Linked DNA regions of Homo sapiens: region 2 is linked to region 1. The links are contacts of gene promoters, found by promoter capture Hi-C in blood cells and fetal thymus (Javierre and others, 2016). All regions are on one chromosome and are shown on one strand. Each heading gives the region's core, a stretch centred on a gene start or on the middle of the fragment in contact. The rest is flanking DNA. Distances are from core to core; before and after follow the strand shown.

Region 1 (2,510 bases), core at 1-2,500:
TGGACTCCTTATTGGTCTTTTTTGCTGGCACCTTCTTGTCAACTCAATCTATAAAAATTGGGTGCCTAAAGCTTGGAACCTGGCTTCTCTTCTCTCTTAAATCTTACCCTACATAATCTCATCCTACCCAATCCACTTGCCAATGATTTCTAAATTCTTTACATCAGCCCTGACCTTTTCTGTATCAGACTCATATATCTAACTGCCTATTTGGTAGCTGCACTCCAAATATCTAAAACTTAAGATGCCCTAAGAAGATTTCGTAATTATTTCTCACGCTCCCAATCTATCCCAAAGTCATTTAGTAAATGCCAGCATAATACACTTGGTTACTTAAGCCAAAACCAAAAATCTATGATGAAGTCATCTTTGACCACTTATTTCTGTCATTTCTCAAATCCTGCCCTGTCAGTTCCACTTTCAATACACTTCTTGACCCCTCTACTTCTCTTCCTCTCCATTCCCACTACCACAGTCTAAGCCACAATTATCTTTCACCTGCTGACTGCCACTGGTCTAACTGGTCTCCCTGTTTCCTCTTTCGCCCCTAAGGCCTGGAATCTATAAAGCAGCCAGAGAGATGGCACACGAAACAGATCATGCCCTAAGGCTAAGCCCAGCTCCTCAGCCTGGTCCACAAGGAAGGCCTCTGTAACCTCATTCTTCTGCCACTGGTCCCAGCACCCGCCACAGCGGCCCCCTGCCACGTGTCAAACACATCAAACCTGTGTTTTTCTTTACTTGCTGCTCTTCCTGCCTTCAGCTCCCTTCCGCAGACCTCCGCTTGGCTGAATACTTTCTCCAATGCCCCACCCCTCCCAATCCTCGTGGCACTCCCACCTCTGACGTTTCCTTGTTTGCTCACGTGTTTACTGCCCGCCCCAATCCCACCGCGGGAAGCAGCCCCTCAGAGGGCAGGGCCGTGTCCGATTCCGGCCCGGGTCCCGCACCCAGGACGTCGCAGGTGCTCAGGAAATACCAGATGAGCCGGCGTCCGGCAGGTGCCTTGCAGGAGGGCGCTTGGAGACCCCTGCCCCCTCCACAGACGGCGAAACTGAGGCCCGGGGAGGGGCAGGGGCGTGGCGTGCCCCATGTCAACCCGCGCAGATCCCGGGTGGGGAGCCCGCTTCCCTTCTCCAGCCCCGGCCCCCCAGCCTCTGGGAGTGCGCCGGGAGGCCGGCCGCACACCCACTCACCTCGGCCCTGGGAGCTCCAGGCCGGAATCTCCCCACCGGAAGTGCGAGGCCGGATGCCGCCGCCGAACCGCGGCACGGGCGGTAACTTCCGCCGGAAGCTACCCAGGGGCTGGGCGGAGCCGGGGCGAAAAGGCGGGGCGGGGCAGCACGGGGGCGGGGCGTCTGTTGTGGTCGGGTTCTGAGGTGGTCTGGTCTTTCTGAGGTACAGCGTAGTTTTGTCCTCCGCGAAGTCCCTCAGGCTCAGAGCACAGCCGTGTAATTGTCTGCGTCTCTCCCGCGCTCAATCAGGGGCTTGCTTTGGAACCCCGGTGCCTGCTAGTGTTCTGCATACAGTGAGCATCCAAAAAATGGTAACTTGTTTACTTTTACTGAACAAATTGTTTTTCTTATGTCCAGTCTAATGCTGGGCAACCATGGAATGAACCACGAAGATAAGTATCTCATGGGCTTTTTCTTCTGGGAGCTCAGGCCAGCTGGGGCCATTACAACTTAAAACTTGGGCGATCCAGAAGTAATACGAAACATTTGTGAAATATTTTCTGTATGAAACTTTCTAAGAATTATCTCAACTTCAATAGGTTGAGTAGGGAGAGAGCATCCCAGATAGAGGAAATGGGAGAATCCTAAAGGAGGGTGAGAAAGCTCCAGCCGTGCCTGGGGCTCACAGGTTGTTTGTAACTGTGGTGGTTAAAGTAGCCAAGAGGCAGGTTGCAGTGGCCCCAAAATGCCAGCCTAGGGAGTTCAGATTTTCTTCATCTTGCGGGATGGATTAAAAGGGCAGCATTTGCAGTCAAGAACATTAGGCCAGGGCAAGCTAGGGTTGCACATTCAGACCCAGTTTTGTGCCTTTCGCCCTCCTCTAGCCTCCTCCTGGGCTCTCTGGCAGTAAGACCAGCTGCAAACATGGATCCTTACAAGTGACTCAGCTGGGATCCCTGGCCCCTCTGAACAGAAGGCTCAAGGCCAGAGTGTAAGCAGTGTTTTATGCAAACTGCGGCTGTCACCGCCGCCAGCTGGCATCATGCAGGCATTAGTTCATTCAGTGCTTACCAAGCACCTACAATGGTACCCATCACTGCCCAAGGTCTTGGCTTTATTCAGTCCTCAGGCTTGTATTGCATGCACTTTCTATGCCTTTTGAAAGAGCCTGTCCTCACACCCTTCTCTCTCAGAGGCAAGAGATCTATTTTCATCACCACCCTCATTTAAGTCTCCCAGCTACCAAGGCCAAGGTTTGGAGCAACAGCCTAAAACACCAGCTGGAAGGCTGGGCACTATGCACAGGCAACACACAGGGTAAAGAGCGTGTCTTCT
Region 2 (2,510 bases), core at 5-2,504, 250 kb before region 1:
GGAGAAAAATGTCATCCTGCATAGAGAACAACAAGTTGTGCCGAGTGTTCTGAGGGAACATTGCAGGGCAGATGGATTGTTCTGGATGTTCAGGATGTGTACCCTTCTTACTTGAGGGGAAGGAGGGCAGGAGGCTTGACAAGGAAGCCAAGGAGGCATAGAATGTGCGTTGTAAGCCAAGTGTGGCCACTCTGATTCCTTTCCCAAGACTTTGAACCTCGAAGGAGTGATGCTCAAGTTCAGGGGTAGTTAGAGATTGTGTTCATTATCTATTGCTGGGTAAGAGGTTGACCTGAAACTTAGTGGCTTGAAACAAGAAAACATCTATTATCTCACAGTTTCTGTGGGTTAGGAATCCAGAAGCAACTTAGCTGGGTGGTTCTGATTAGATCACCACTGGGATCAATGTGTCAGCTGGGGCTGAAGTCATATGAGGCTTGACTGCTGCGGGAGGGTCCACTTCCACTTCCACTTCCACTTTCACTTCCTATGTGGCTGAGGGCTGGAAGCTTTGAATCCTTGCCATATGGACTTCTCCATAGGCTGCCTGAGTGCTGAGTGTCCTCACGACATGGCAGACAGCTGCTTCCCCAGAGGGCCTGGAGACAGTGCAGGGGGTGGGGGAGAGGGGAGAGAGAGAGAGAGAGAGGAGAGAAGAGAGAGAAAGGAGAGAGAGAAGAGAAGGAGAGAGAAAGAAGAGAGAGAAAGAGAAGAGAGAGAGAAAGGAGAGAGAAAGAAGAAGGAGAGAGAGAAGAGAGAAAGGAGAGAGAGAAAGAAGAGAGAAAGAAAAGAGAGAAGAGAAAGGAGAGAGAGAAAGGAGAGAGAAGAGAGAGAAAGAAGACAGAGAAAGGAGAGAGAGAAGAGAAAAGAGAAGAGAGAGAGAAGAGAGAGAGGAGACAGAGAAGGGAGAGAGAAAGAAGAGAGAGAAGAGAGAAAAAGAAGAGTGAGACAGTGCACACATAAGATGGAAGCCTCAGTCCTTTTATTTTTATTTAATTTTTTTGTAGAGATGAATTATTGCTGTGTTGCTCAGCTGGTCTAGAACTCCTTGCTTTAAGTGATCCTTCCTTTCTTGACCTCCCAAAGTGTTGGAATTACAGGCATGAGCCACTGCACCTGACCTCAGTGGGTTTGTAACCTAACCTTGATGTGACCTACACTCACTTCTGCTGGTTTCTGTTGGTCACACAGACCAACCCTGGTACAATAAGGAAGGGGACTACATAAGGGTGTGAAGACCAGGAGGTAGGGATTGTTGAGGGCTGTCTTGGAGGTAGGCTGGCACAGAGATGGTTTATAGAACTTTTCTGTGGCAGAGTCTCATCTATTCCCTGCCTCCTGTGGTTTTGCCTGGGTGCCTCCCTTGAGCCTTCCTGTCGGCTCTCTGGGCTGCCCAACACCCTTTCAATAGTGTCCTCTTTTATTTAAGTTCACTGCTACATCTTCTCTTGTTTGCAAGGACAACTCTGATTAGAACAGGTGCTACAAGAGAGGACAGTGGCGGGGGAGGTGGGTGGGTAGCAGAGGAAACTCATTTTAGATAAGATGGTCAGGGAAGGCCTCTCTGAGGAGGGGCCACTTACCCTGAGACATGAATGGTGAGGAAGAGTCAGCAGATGAAAGGTGGGAGGAGGGGCGTTTTAGACAGAGGGGGCAGCATAGCCAAAGCTCTGCGGTGGGAACCAAGGTTGCCAATGGCCAGGTCACGCAGCCTCTTGAGGTCACAGTAAAAACTTGGATCCTTTCCCCTGCAACCAAAGCATCTCTTCTTCCAAACATCAGAGTCTGGGAGGGCTGAGGACCAGGCTCCAGGCCTCATTGTGCGGGGATCAGATCAGCCGAGTAAGTGGCTTTAACCAGATAAGGATCAAGACATTCTCTGCTTTGTTCTCGCATCTGTTTTGCCGGCTCTTGGGTTTTCCAAATTTCTGCTTGGGTTCTTTTCTGAGTTTCTTAGTTCCCTTTGATAAATTCCCACGTGATACTGGTGAGCTAAAGGGAAAGCTTTTTGTCCATAGTTAGGCCTGGGAATCCCAGCTAGAGAGCCCTGTCATCTTATGGAGATGGGCTGCTACCCAGGACGGTGTGGGAATGGGCAGGTGGGTCTGAGGGATCCCTTCAGCCTCATTACTCTATAGTTCTGCGTTTATTCAACAAATACCTGTTCAGCATCTGGCAGGTGTTCAGACTCTGTGTGGGTGTTAGGTTAAGAAGATAAAGGAGGCACTGTTCCTCCTCTCCACAATTCAAGTTAGAAGTGAGGGATGGCCTGATCCAAAGGCGATTGAGTGCAAATTCCTTGTTCCTTAGGAATCAGCCACATGGCTGGCCCACAGCCAAAGCCAACAGGTCCTCTGTACCCTGTATTTTAGGGAGCCAGATAGTTTCCCTCCAGGTTTACTAAAGGAGGCAGAACTCGCTTTACACCCACAGCCCAAAATTCCAATTTCCTCTTCCTTGCCCATACAGCAATCTTGGGGAGGAAGGAGGTCCTTGGTTTTACTGAGTAG

Evidence for each region. Contacts are between HindIII fragments. The CHiCAGO score rates a contact against its expected background, and 5 or more counts as called.
Region 2: a fragment that was not itself captured here is called in contact with the fragment with the promoter of SLC35H1 in region 1 in 4 of 17 cell types (M2 macrophages, M0 macrophages, monocytes and 1 more); the score reaches 8.0 in M2 macrophages.

What each region holds. Positions count from the first base shown.
Region 1 is chr20:46,363,175-46,365,684 of GRCh38, forward strand. SLC35H1 (solute carrier family 35 member H1) reads right to left here and starts at 1,251. Exons shown (of 10, transcript NM_015945.12): 1 at 1,197-1,251. LOC124904917 (a long non-coding RNA gene) reads left to right here and starts at 1,365. Exons shown (of 3, transcript XR_007067614.1): 1 at 1,365-1,546. RefSeq lists a silencer at 972-1,391. The HindIII fragment of the contact is 17,737 bases long and covers 70-2,510 here.
Region 2 is chr20:46,110,990-46,113,499 of GRCh38, forward strand. No RefSeq gene overlaps it. Among named protein-coding and RNA genes, the nearest start is that of CD40, 6.1 kb to the right of the region's middle. The HindIII fragment of the contact is 1,495 bases long and covers 508-2,002 here.